Linked DNA regions of Homo sapiens: region 2 is linked to region 1. Evidence: promoter capture Hi-C in human tissues and cell types (Jung and others, 2019). All regions are on one chromosome and are shown on one strand. The core of a region is centred on a gene start or on the middle of the fragment in contact, and the rest is flanking DNA. Distances in the headings are between cores, read along the strand shown. Region 1 holds the start of THBS3 (thrombospondin 3). Region 2 has its middle 13 kb from the start of EFNA1.

Region 1 (6,755 bases), core at 2,734-5,233:
CACAACCTCCACCTCCTGGGTTCAAGCAACTCTCCTGCCTCCGCCTCCCAAGTAGCTGGGACTACAGGTGCCCACCACCATGCCCAGCTAATTTTTTGTATTTTTTAGTAGAGAGGAGGTTTCACAGTGTTGGCCAGGCTGGTCTTGAACTCCGGACCTTGAGGGATCAGCCCACCTCAGCCTCCCAAAGTGCTGGGATTACAGGTGTGAGCCACCACACCCGCCATCCCATTCCCTTCTTCAAGAGCTCTCCCTCAAATATCTGGGAAAGGTGGGTCTTTTATTTAGGTGAGAGCTTCTGAACATCCCTGTCAGAGAGACCAGGCAGATGGGCAACACTCAGAGAAATTGCTGGTGACAGCTGCCAGTGAGAACTATAAAAGACTCGAGACCAGGCCGGGCGCGGTGGCTTACGCCTGTAATCCCAGCACTTTGAGAGGCCGAGGTGGGTGCATCACTTGAGATTAGGTGTTTGAGACCAGCCTGGCCAACGTGGTGAAATCCCATCTCTACTAAAAATGCAAAAATTAGCTAGGCATGGTGGAGGGCGCCTGTAATCCCAGCTGCTTGGGAGGCTGAGGCAGGAGAATCACTTGAACTCAGTGGAGACTGCAGTGACCCAGATTGCACCACTGCACTCCGGCCTGGGCAACAGGACAAGACTCCATCACCAAAAAAAAAAAAAATACTCGAGACCAGTATCTCTTGGTCAGCCAAGGCCAAGCAATTAACCAATTCTTCTCTTAGATCACTTTTTTTCTCGGATGGGTGTATTGGAGATTGTGGAGTCAGGTGAAAGATTTGGAATAACAGGGTTAGAAACCCTAGGAACAGGTGAGCCAAAGGAATGGGTTTTAAGGGAGAGGGAGATCAAGAAGACAGGAGTCACCAAAGGCCACAGGATCCGTGGTCCAATGTCAGCAAACAAGTCTCTGTGTTACCTGCACTGTGGATGGACTCGTCCCCTTGGAATGGACACTCACTCAGGGCTCCTACCCGGGCCATGGACCCACCCAGAATAATTTTCATAGATTCCACAAAGCCCTGGGGGGATAGCAGCAGAGTAAGGTGGGAAGGTCTACCAACCCCTTCCCCAGCTGGTGCAAACTCTATTTCCACAGAACTCAGAGGCTCCTCCCGGCTCACCTGCATCCTCAAATACGCCTTCTGTCCAGTCCTAATCTCCAGCCCATCGACCTCCGCTGGAGGAATGGGGGCCAGTGCTGGAAGGCCTGCATGTTGGTCACCCAGTTTGCAGTCCACGTAGAGATGTAGGGCAGGGCTGGGTCTGGAGGGACCTCGGAGTCGCAGGAGAACTGTGTGTGTGCGCCCATCAGCCAGGCCCGCTTGCTGTAGGTTCACGGCGTGGACTTTGCCATCCTCCCGCTGGTATCGCACCAGTACTGCCCAGGAGGGGAGATCAGTATGGGCGCTATCCCCCACCCCCTGCCTCCCAGCTGAGCCTTGGATCAACTCTGCTAGATACCACATCTCTAGGGCCCCTATCCCTAATTCTACTATGTGGCTCTCAACACCTTGTATTTAATAGGTACACAATAAATGTTTTTGAAATTGCTTTAGAGGCCAGGCACGGTGGCTCACACCTGTAATCCCAGCACTTTAGAAGGCCAAGGTGGGCAGATCACTTGAGGTCAGAAGTTCGAGAACAGCCTGGTCAACATGGCGAAACCCTGTTTCTACTAAAAATACAAAAGTTAGCCAGGCATGGTGGTGGGCACCTGTAGTCCCAGCTACTCAGGAGGCTGAGATAGGAGAATTGCTTGAACCCAGGAGGCAGAGGTTGCAGTGAGCTGAGATTGTACCACTGCACTCCAGCCTAGGTGACAAAGCAAGACTCCATTTAAAAAAATAATTGGTTTAGAGACAAATACTTTCTTAGTCTTCATTGGTATCAGATGACTGTATCCTCTCCTAGGGTGACAGCTGGTTTTGTGGCCACTGACCTGTTCCAGGGATCTGAAAGACCTTTCTGTATCACCGCTGAGGCACAGAGACATGCCTCACCCTCCTTCCAGGCATCCCCAAGTACAACCTCCCATCCCTATAAATATCAGGACTCAAGCCTCACCCTATTGTTTGGTACATGGGCTCCTAAAGCACCTTATAAGCACCCCATACCAGGTGCCCCTGATGTCTGGGCACAGCCTGATGGGACCTTGGTCCCTAGTGGAGGCCAAGGAGAATGAGGAAGCACTTGGGAAGTAGGGATGAGGGAGAGTGCTTAAGGAGGTCACCATTGCAAGAAAGGAGATGCCCACCAGTCACCTTTGTTGATCTTGCCTACAACAGAGGCCTCCAGCCATCGAGTGTTGTCTTGGCGAGAATAGAGGCCAAAGAGGACACCACCCTGCTTGGGGGGCAGGCGGAAGGTGGATAAGAGGTAGATGTCCCCAGCAGTGAGCAAGGCTGTCCGGATCTTCTCTGCCACAGCTACCATCTGCCGAGACTCGCCCACAGTCAGCAGGTCAATTACTGGTCAGGCAGGGGTTATCAAGGTTAGAGAATGGGATCAAATGCTAAGGTATGCCCTCCCCCGAGCCCACATCACCCCCTACCCCCACCACCAGGCAGCGTTAGTCACCTCAAAATTCAACCCTTGGCTGGGCATGGTGGCTCGCACCTGTAATCCCAACACCTTGGGAGGTTGAGGCAGGTGGATCGCCTAAGGTCAGGAGTTCGAGACCAGCCTGGCCAACACGGTGAAACCCCGTGTCTACTAAAAATACAAAAACAACAACAAAAAAGAAAAAAAAACCACCTAGCCGGGCGTGGTGGCGGGCACCTGTAATCCCAGCTACTCAGGAGGCTGAGGCAGGAGACTCGCTTGAACCTGAGAGGTGGAGGTTGCAGTGAGCCGAGATCGCGCCATTGCACTCCAGCCTGGGCAACAAGAGTGAAACTCCATCTCAAAAAGACAAAACGAAAACAAAAAAAAACCTCAACCCTTGTTGCTCTCAGAGGACAGAGGCACTGTGCCTTCCTTTCCCCATTATTGCCTATTACTACCTTCCAGGAACCTGCAGGTTTGAGACTCACTTGGAAACACAGAAACAGCACCCCACAAATTTGAGATGCCCCCACCAGGTGGCGCAAAGGAGATGCTGTGCTGATCCCCCACAGGAGTGGCACCTGGTGTCCACAACGTAGAAATGGAAGGCAGCTTCTCTTTCCACTCCTGGGTTTGGCTCGTTCCACACCCTAGTTCCCCTCCTCCCATCCTAGGGGCGCAGCACACTCGCTCTGGATAAGAACAGCTGCCCACTGAGGACTCTAACCCTCCCACCATCTGGGCTATCTCCCACGGGAATGTAGGACCCAGCTCCTCTGCCTCCTGTGTCCTGGCCAATCTGTGGTTTTCCCTCCAGCCAGTAAAGAATCTATGCCTGTGTCATCTGCTCCAGCTACCTCTCCCACATCCATCGGCCCATCCCACCACCAGACCTCCGGGAGAGCCCAGGCTTCTTGGTCCCCACCCCCGCCCTGTCCTTGGGCAGCCAGGAGCCCAGGGGGACGAAGCCCAGGGACCTACAGTACGCCCACCTTCAGGCTGCTCTCCCAGACCCTAGGGTGCCTACAGATGCTCAGGAACCACCCCAGCCAGGCAGCCTGAGCATCCAGTTCCTGAGTCCTCTGCCCTGGCCTCATGCCTGACCCTGTCCTGTTCCAGCTCCCCCACTACTCTCCGGTGCCCACTCCTCTCCACCAGGCCATAATTTCACCAACTCTAGGCAGTCTTAAGTTTTCCTCTGGCTCAATTTCTGGACTCTTCCCCTCTCCCCTTGCCCACATGTTCTCTGCTACTTGGGCTGAGGGCAAATGGGGAAGAAGCAGAGAGCGGTCTAAGAGGATGGAGACAGGCTTACCCTGCAGATCCTGACTGGCAGATGTGAAAAAGCAAAGGAGGAGAAGAGCCAGGGCCCCCCGAAGTTCCTGCGTCTCCATGCCTCTCAGCCGGCTCACTACCCCTGGCAGGCAGGCAGCTGGGAGGGGAAAAGGCTAGGCGGAGAGAGCAGGAGCCGGGGGGCGGAGGGACAGAATTGGAGGGGGGGCCAGCAGGCGGGTGAGGGGGGGCTGAAACAAAGAGCTGCCAATCACCCTGGAGGCATCATCAGCTCTGGGAACCAGGGGCACTGGGAAAGAATCCTGGAGGCCTCCCTGCTTTCTACCTCTCCCTAATGATCCTCCCCCAGGTGCCTCCCTCTCCGCAGTCATCATTGTTGGGGGTCTCGGCACACAGCGCTACCGAATGCCACTGTTTTCTGGAAGCCACGATTGTGGAAGGCAAGAACCCCTGGCAGGGGCAGTGCTAGACAGTGGGCATTATTCCACAGCTGGCAGGAAAGGATGCCAAGGGAGTGGCCGCAACTAGCTTGCTATAGTGCCCAGGGATGCCCACATGGCATGAATTTTGCTGTTCTGGCGGAGCAAGTGCTCTTTATTAGGGTGGGGGGTCCCCTGACAAGTGCCTGTTTCTCCATTTTCCCTCATTCGTAGGAAAGCTTGGGAGTCTGGAAGCGTCTGACGGGAACTGAAGGGAGAATCTAAAGCAGTGGTCAGTGAGGTCAGAGTGAAGAAACCAAAAAAGAGGAAAGGGACACCAGGGACAGGCGCAGAAGACCAGGGGTACAGGCGAGGAGCCAAGGACCAGACTGTGGAACACTGTGGGTACTAGCGGACGGGCCGTGACCCGGATGAAGCAGAGGGGCGCCTGAGTTCCCGTCACCTAAGCGACAGCCTGCGAGCCTCTCTTCCCCTCCCCCACCCAAGCCCCAGCCCGGCCTCCGCTCCGGCCGCCGCCACCGCCCCTGTTTTGTTTCCATGGCGACAGGCGGCGCAGGGCCCGCTCCAAACATAACGCGCTGTGGAAAACATGCTGCTCGGGGGACCCCCCCGCAGTCCCCGCTCGGGGACGAGCCCCAAGGGGCCCTGGAGCAGTACAGGCCACGTGCAGTTTGGCAAGAGCCCCCAGACCTGGCCCAGGCGCACAAGACCCCGCTCTCCAGAGCCTGCCGCGCCTTCAGGGGTTCGGGGCTCCACTTGGACGAGGCGCCGTGACTCTCCGAGGCGCGCCGGGCCGACAGCGCTGTCCCGCTACGTGGGCCACCTCTGGATGGGCCGGCGGCCGCCCTCCCCCGAGGCCCGCGGCCCAGTCCCCCGCAGTTCAGCTGCCAGTCGGGCCAGAAGAAGCCTCGCCTCCCCGGGGATCTCCCCAGGCCCCCTGACCGCAACGATCGGAGGGGCGGTGGCGGGGGGCGGGCCCAGGCAGGGGAGGGCAGAAGCACACAAGGAAGTGTTTCCGGGACAGAGGGTGGGCAAGATGGCGGCGCCCATGGAGCTGTTCTGCTGGTCAGGGGGCTGGGGGCTGCCGTCAGTGGACCTGGACAGCCTGGCCGTGCTGGTGAGGGGTGGCGCCGGCGCCCTCTGCTGTGCCCTGATGACTGGGGAGGGGGCCGAACTAGCCAAGCATCCAAACCTTGCCAGGGCTACTCAGCACGGGCGCAGTGGGGGAAACTGAGGCAGTCAAAGAGCGTACGTGGCCGATATGGCCTCAGTGCCCTATGCTGTAGTTTTCTAGGCTTAATGCAGCAATGAAAAGACGCCTGGTTGGGAGTTCAGGTGATGGGTTCTAGTCCTTGCTCATCCATTCACTGGCTGTGTGACCTTGCGGAGATCCTTTCTCTTTGGGCATTTTTTTTCTCCATTCGGAGGTTTACTAGGCTGGACTGTCTCAGGGACCTACTCTAGCTTGGAATTCCTGCCTTCTCCTCAGCCCCCTTCTCCTCTTCCTCCTCACTTAACAGCATTTACTGAGGCTATTGTTTGTTAGACCAAACGACTCACAGCCAGGCTTTGTATAAAGAGCTTAGCAATCAGACTTCCTTTGCTTCATTTATTCATTGACTCCTTGCTTTAAAGAGGATCTATTAGATTTCTTCCAAATATTAAACATTGCCAGGCAAAGATGAATAAAATTTGGTTCCTCCCTTCGAGTTTACAGAAAGGCAGATAGGTAAGCAAATAAATATAATAAAATATTCACATATAAGTTAAAGTAGGAACAGACCACAGATACTGCCAAAGAGAAGGGCATTATCAGTGCTTCCAAGAAGAGGGATACTGGTTAGGAAAAGCTTCTGAGGATAGATGTTCACCAGGTAGATGGCAAGAGAGGAGATAGAGGAAAGGATTTTCCTGGCTGTCCTGTAATCACAGACATGTCCGGAATCTCTCTGAGCCCTGTGTTGTCCATTTGTAAAATAGAAATGGTAGTGACTCCCCCTTTTTTTTCGAGACTAAGATACTAAGTATAGGGAATGGCACATAAGGTATTCAATAAATGTTATTTCTCTTCTTGATACCACTGTGGGGGACATGGCTCTGCCTCTCTGACTTCTGCTTCCTTCCCTGCAGACCTATGCCAGATTTACTGGTGCTCCACTGAAGGTACACAAGATCAGCAACCCCTGGCAGAGCCCTTCAGGTACCCAGTATCCCTTGGGGGTAAGGAAGGGTGTGTACAAGGGGAGAAGCAAGAAATAGGCAGGAATGTGTTGCAACTATGTATGACTAGGCAGCTAAGGGTCTGGTTGGTATACTTCCCTCTCAATATCAGGAACTCTGCCTGCCCTTCGGACCAGTCATGGAGAGGTCATCTCAGTTCCACACAAGATCATCACCCACCTTCGAAAAGAGGTAGGTGACTTGGATAGAGGGGGCTGCCAGTGAGAGAAGTT
Region 2 (6,971 bases), core at 2,205-4,704, 93 kb before region 1:
CTCTGTCACCCAGGCTGGAGTGCAGTGGTGCAATCACAGCTCACTGCAACCTCTGCCTCTGGGGTTCGAGCAATTCTTGTGCCTCAGCTTCCCAGTAACTGGGATTACAGGCGCCCGCCACCACACCCAGCTAATTTTCTGTATTTTTAGTAGAGACGGGGTTTCACCATTTTGGCCAGGCTAGTCTCAAACTCCTGAGTTCAGGTGACCCGCCCACCTCAGCCTCCCAAAGTGCTGGGATTACAGGCATGAGCCACCGCGCCTGGCCTTTTTTTTTCTTTTCTTTTTTTAAAGGTTTGTCAGGAGAAAAATGGTGATGAGGCAGAGGGAAGGAAGATCTTGGGTGTGTTCTTGACCTGTGGAAGGGTGTGGGGAGGAGCCAGATGAATGGATTTGATGAGGGCCGTGGGGCCTGGGGGGCCTGGCTCTGCACATTTAGTGACTAAGTACAGCCCAGAGTTGGAGACAGGACTCGCCCCTAACCTGTGCAAGGGGCCCAGCCCCACCTAGTGTGGTAAATTGACGGCTGTGTCCTCAGCTCCCGCCCCCTTATCCTTGACTGCCCTCACCCTAGGCAGGTGGTCCTTTGCTTGGCCCAAGCTTTCTGCAGAAGGACTCGCCTGGGCTGCTGTCCCAGGAGGGGCCATGGCAGGCCATCTATGGGGAGTGTGATGGCTGTGTGCACACTGGAGTCGGAAATTGCCACAGCCAGGAGGAACACCTCACAGGAGCGTGGCTGCCTGCGGGAGGGGCTGAGGAAGCTCCCAAATGGCTCTGTGGCAAAGCCCTCATCCTCAGAGGACTAGAAATCCCGCTGCAGGCCGGGCGGGGTGGCTCATGCCTGTAATCCCAGCACTTTGGGAGGCCAAGGCGGGTGGATCACGAGGTCAGGGGATCGAGACCATCCTGGCTAACATGGTGAAACCCCGTCTCTACTAAAAATACAAAAAATTAGCCGGGCGTGGTGGGGGGCGCCTGTAATCCCAGCTACTCGGGCGGCTGAGGCAGGAGAATGGCCTGAATCTTGGAGGCGGAGCTTGCAGTGAGCTGAGATGGCACCACTGCACTCAAGCCTGGGCAACAGAGGGAGACTCTGTCTCAAAAAAAAAAGAAAAAAGAAAAAAAAAAGAAATCCCGCTGCAGCATAGCATGGCAGCAAGTGTGCAGATCCATCCTCAGTCCAGCCCCAGGGAAGCCTGTCAGGGCCCTGTGGATAGAGGTGACTGTGAATGAAAATTAAAGATGAATCTAAAAATCAGATGATTAAAAAAAAATTGGGCCAGGTGAAGTGGCTCATGCCTGTAATTCCAGCACTTTGGGAGGCCAAGGTGGGTGGATCACTTGAGGTCAGGAGTTCGAGACCATCCTGGCCAAGATGGTGAAACCCTGGCACTACTAAAATACAAAAAATTGGCCGTGTGCAGTGGCTCACACCTGTAATCCCAACACTTTGGGAGGCTGAGGCAGGCAGATCACGAGGTCAGGAGATCAAGACCATCCTGGCTAACATGGTGAAATCCCGTCTCTACTAAAAGCACAAAAAATTTGCTGGGTGTGGTGGTGTGCGCCTGTCGTCCTAGCTACTCAGGAGGCTGAGGCAGGAGAATTGCTTGAACCCAGGAGGCGGAGGTTGCAGTGAGCCGAGATCACGCCACTGCACTCCATCCTGGCAACAGAGCAAGATTCCATCACAAAAAACAAACAACAACAACAAAAAACAAGCAAACAAACAAAAACAACAACAAAAAAAACACAAAAATTAGCCAGGCATGGTAGCATGCGCCTGTAATCCCATATACTCAGGAGGCTGAGGCAAGAGAATCACTTGAACCCGGGAGGCAGACTATGCAGCAAGCCAAGATTTCACCACTGCACTCCAGCCTGGGTGACAGTGAGAGTCCGTCTTAAAAAGAAAAAAAAAATCGAAGAACAGACATGCCAATCTGTAACACATGAAAGCACAAGCCGCCTTTCTTGGGAACCCCCAACAGAGGTGACAAGGGAGAGGAGAGATTTCCAGTGCCCCAACCCCCACCAGCAGGAAAACACTGAGCCCTCCAGAACAGCTGCAGCACTCAGCCAGCCCAAACATGTTTCTGAGCCCATGTGAAATGCCCTAGGGGGACCATCAGTGATATTTCAGAGGGACTTTGCAAGGGGCTGGAGGTCCTATGTCAGCAAGCAGAAGCAGGAGCCAGTTGGCTTAAAACTTGTTACTGTCACTGTGAGCCTTCTACAATAAAAATCCTAATAATTGCTGTCATAATACTAATCCTGGCTGGGCATGGTGGCTCACACCTGTAATTTCAGCACTTTGGGAGGCCGAGATGGGTGGATCACAAGGTCAGGAATTCAAGACCAACCTGACCAACATGGTGAAACCCCGTCTCTACTAAAAATACAAAAATTAGCCAGGCGTGGTGGTGCATGCCTGTAATCCCAGCTACTCAGGAGACTGAGGCAGGAGAAACACTTGAACCCAGGAGGTGGAGGTTGCAGTGAGCCAAGATTGCAGTATTGCACTCCAGCCTGGGTGACAGAGCAAGACTCCATTTCAAAAAAGAAAAAAATAATAACAATATTAATATTAATCCTGAGGTTTTTCTATATGCCAAACAGGCCAGCCGTTCTAAGTACTTTACATACATTATCTCATTTCATCCTCATCATGATCCAAAGGGTGGGCACTATTATTATCATCCTTATTTCATAAATTAGGAAACAGGCACAGATGTGATTGGCCCAGGGTCATATCCAAATAAGTGATGGAGCTGGGATTCAAATCTTTGCAATCTCTCTCCAAAGCCCAAACTTTTTTTTTTTTTCTTTTTAAAGACAGGCTCTTGAGGCCAGGTGCAGTGGCTCACATCTGTAATCCCAGCATTTTGGGAGGCTGAGGCGGGTGGATCACTTGAAATCAGGTGTTCGAGACCAGCATGGCCAGCAAGGTGAAACCCCATCTCTACTAAGAATACAAAAATTATATGGGCGTGGTGGCAGACGCCTGTAAACCCACCTACTTGGGAGGCTGAGGTAGGAGAATCACTTGAACCCGGGAAGTAGAGGTTGCAGTGAGCCGAGATCCCGCCACGGCACTCCAGCCTGAGCAACAAGAGCAAGACTCTGTCTCAAAAAAAAAAATAAATAAATAAAGACAGGGCCCTCACTCTGTTGCCCAGGCTGGAGTGCACTCAGACCCCTGGTCTCTAGTGGACCCTCCCGCCTCAGCCTCCTGAGTACTAAGCTTTTCACCTAGGTGAGGCCTGGGGAAGTGGCAGTTAATCTGGGCATAGACTCTCATGAATTCTTTCCTCTTTATCAACAACTGGGCCTGGGTTTCCCCATCCCTTAAAAACATCCTTCCCTCCTTTCTGCAACCTCAAGCTACCAGGCTCTTCTAGTTAAATCTGCCTGTTTGCTTGCCCAGCTTCCATTCCCCTCAATTTTTTTGGAGATTCCCGTTTATCCTGTCTTAGACTACATTCCCTTTCCCAAACCAATCCCTGTGGCCTGGGGCTGCTGTGCTGGGACTGGCCAGTCTCAGGATATTGCCCGCTACGGCACCTGGGAGATGGGGTGATCCCACTCAAACCATAAACAAGCCAAGGAAATCAGGAGCAGACCTGTGTTTTGAAGAAATGACAAGGAGCTCTATTTCAGCAAGTTAAATTTAAAGTGCTCACACCTGTAATCCCAGCACTTTGGGAGGCCGAGGTGGGCAGATCACTTAAGGTCAGGGGTTCGAGACCACCCTGGCCAACATGGTGAAAAATGGATTGAGAAGTTGTAAATTAGAGCCTGGGAATAGTGCTTTGAGATAGAGAAGTGGAGAGAGAACATGGGATTGGGATTTAAGGCCCTGGAATTGTCATGTGTGAGGATGAAGAACTGGCTTGCAAATGCAATGCCTGCAGGGAGGCCAAGTGTATTTGTCAGGGAGGCAAAATATAGTCTTCGACTGCCATCTCATCACCTCAGTCATCCCAGAAGAAAGAGAACAGCTCTATAGGCCGGGTATGGTGGCTCACACCTGTAATCCCAGTACACTGGGAGGCTGAGACAGGTGGATCACTTAAGGTCAGGAGTTCGAGACCAGCCTGGCCAACATGAGGAAAACCCGTCTCTACTAAAAATACGAAAATTAGGTGGGTGGTGGTGGCGTGCACCTGCAGTCAAAGCTACTCAAGAGGCTGAGGGAAAGGCTCACTTGAACCAGGAGGTCGAGGCTGTAGTGAGCTATGATGGTGCCACTGCACTCCAGCCTGGGCGACAAAGTGAGATCCTATCTCAAAAAAATAAAATAAAATAAAATAAAATAAAGATAATAATTCTACCTACCTCTTATGGTGACTGTGAAGATTAAGTGCATTAATGTACACAAAGTGCTTCAAATGAGCCTGGAATAAGGAACATGTTCTATAAACATGAGCTGATGCTGTGACTATTCCCAGGGCAACTTCCCAATTAAATACAACCCCCTCAGCTTGCTTCTGAAGCCAACCTGGGTTTGCCCAAGAGCCCTTCTCCAGCCCAATCTGGTATGCCCTCAGCCCATTTAAAACCAATTTCCTGATAAGCCCAGTCTCCAAAGGACCTCCCCTAGGACGCCCAACACCTCCCCAGACATGGGGATTTGTGCCAGGAGAGGAGCTCTTTTTTGAGTGCCACAGTGCGGTGTGCCACCCCCAAGGAATTTACTGCTTTCCACCTGGCATTCCAGCTATCTGTTTTCTCCTGCCCTACCTCTCTGGGTGGTTCCTGGCCTCCTCCCTATTCCCCCTGCCCAAACTCTGTCTCTTCAGTGCTTTTTGTACCCTCCCCCCACCATTACTTAATCAAGTCCTACTCCTGTTTAAGACGAAACTCAGACCAAACAGTGCCCGGCCAAGGTTGGAGGACTTGATGATGCCAGAGCCAAGAGGAAGAAGGAGAGCAGGGGAGGGTGGGGGAGACTACAGTGGAGCCAGGGGAGGAAAAAGGACCAGGAAGGAGGGAAGAAGGAGCTCTGGGGGACAGATCTTCCCTGTCACCTTCCCCTCGCCCATGCAGGGGCAGGGCAGTGTGGCCCATAGGATTCCTTTGGGCATGGAATGCCCTTGCCCACCAACCTCACCCGAGAACCCTCAAAAGTCACTTCCCCCACTCATCACTCTGCCCTCACAGAACCTCAGCACTCTTGGCCACCTCATCCTAGGGCATTTACCACATACCCATCCCATTCGTGATCCTGGGACTCCTCCCCACTTCCCTGTATCCTTACCCTCACTATCAGCACGTTTGCCCCCTTCTGCCTGTGCGGGAACCATGCGAGGGGAAATTCACCCCGTGCTTATGCACAACCCACTCCCCAGGCTAAGTGCCAGGCCCGCACATCTATTATTTCATTCGATCCCTGCAATAATTGCATGGAGGCCAGGCGCAATGGCTCACGCCTGTAATCCCAGCACTTTGGGAGGCTGAGTCGGGCGGGTCACGAGGTCAGGAGATCGAGACCATCCTGGCTAACACAGTGAAACCCCATCTCTACTAAAAATACAAAAAAAAAAAAAAAATTAGCTGGGCATTGTGGCGGGCACCTGTAGTCCCAGCTGCTTGGGAGGCAGAGGCAAGAGAATGGCATGAACCCTGGAGGCAGAGCTTACAGTGAGCCGAGATCACACCACTGCACTCCAGCCTGGGTGACAGTCAGACTCTGTCTCAAAAAAAAAAAAAAAAAAAATTAATGGGGCGTGGTGGCAGGCATCTGTAATCCCAGCTACTCCGGAGGCTGAGGCAGGAGAATCACTTGAACCCGGGAGGCGGAGGTTGCGGTGAGCTGAGATCGCGCCATTGCACTCCAGCCTGGGCAATAAGAGTAAAACTCCATCTCAAAGTAAATAAATTAATAATAATAATAATAATAATAATAATAATAATAATAATAATTGCATAGAGAAAGTAGTCTTGACCCCATTTTATGATGAAGAAAAGGTGAGGCTCAGAGAGGTTAGGTAACTTTCCCAAGTTTCCACAGCTGGGCCCCCGACCCCACCCCTCTCTGCACTGTCTCCCTGTTCACCAGCTGCCTTTATTGGATGTGGCTTGCGGCACTTAGGCAGAGCACCTGTTATACAAACAAATGAGCTGTCCATTATCTGGCCATCTCCCACCTGCCTGCAGGGACGGGCCAGGGTGAGCTTAAGCCCTGGGGGACTGCATCTCAGAGCCTGTCCCACAAACCGCCTCAGGTTCCCTCTGAGACTGTCCCACACCCAGCCCCCTCTCTAGCTCTTTCCTTTACCTTCTCTACTGACTCCCCCCATTTGCTCCCAGCAGATACAGATATAGCACTTGGTGCCATATCTCCTTTATCCCCAGGAGAGCCAGGCAAGTGGGGCGTAGAAGGAATAGCATGGTGTAGATCCAAGCCCCATCAAATGTACCCCACCTGAGTTCTTTTTTTTTTTTGAGACTGAGTCTTGCTCTGTCGCCCAGGTTGGAGTGCAGTGGTGCAATCTTGGCTCACTGCAACCTCCACCTCCCGGGTTCAAGCCATATTCTCCTGACTCAGCCTCCTGAGTAGTAGCTGGGACCACAGACACGCGCCACCACGCCCAACTAATTTTTGTATTTTTAGTAGAGCTGGGGTTTCACTATGTTGGCCAGGTTGGTCTGAAACTCCTGACCTCAGGTGATCTGCCCACCCGGCCTCCTAAAGTGCTAGGATTACAGGAGTGAACCACCTCACCTGGCCTTTTTTTTTTTTTTTTTTTTTTTGAGTTTTGAGAGAGGGTCTCGCTCTGTTGCCCAGGCTGGAGCACAGTGATGCCATCTCGGTTCACTGTAGCCTCTACTTCCTGGGCTTGCCCCTGTTGGCCTGTGCGGGAACCATGCGAGGGGAAATGCACACTGAGAGTGAGAGTGAGACTCAGTCTCCAAGAAAAAAAAAAAAAAGAGAGAGAGAGAGAGAGATGGGGTTTCACCACATTACC

The links. Contacts are between HindIII fragments. The study calls those that stand out against the background at their distance.
Region 2: a contact is called between a fragment that was not itself captured here and the fragment with the promoter of THBS3 in region 1, in 3 of the 25 tissues and cell types used here (IMR-90 fibroblasts, lymphoblastoid cells and thymus).

Annotation. Positions count from the first base shown.
Region 1 is chr1:155,203,914-155,210,668 of GRCh38, forward strand. THBS3 (thrombospondin 3) reads right to left here and starts at 3,984. Exons shown (of 23, transcript NM_007112.5): 1 at 3,885-3,984; 2 at 2,287-2,493; 3 at 1,147-1,403; 4 at 942-1,044. The coding sequence starts at 3,963. MTX1 (metaxin 1) reads left to right here and starts at 4,782. Exons shown (of 8, transcript NM_002455.5): 1 at 4,782-5,419; 2 at 6,433-6,502; 3 at 6,635-6,714. The coding sequence starts at 4,892. It overlaps THBS3-AS1 (THBS3 antisense RNA 1), which reads left to right. Exons shown (of 6, transcript NR_183238.1): 6 at 1,122-1,576. RefSeq lists an enhancer at 2,985-3,768 and a silencer at 5,132-5,331. The HindIII fragment of the contact is 12,638 bases long and covers 1-5,336 here.
Region 2 is chr1:155,111,714-155,118,684 of GRCh38, forward strand. No RefSeq gene overlaps it. Among named protein-coding and RNA genes, the nearest start is that of EFNA1, 13 kb to the right of the region's middle. The HindIII fragment of the contact is 7,406 bases long and covers 1-6,971 here.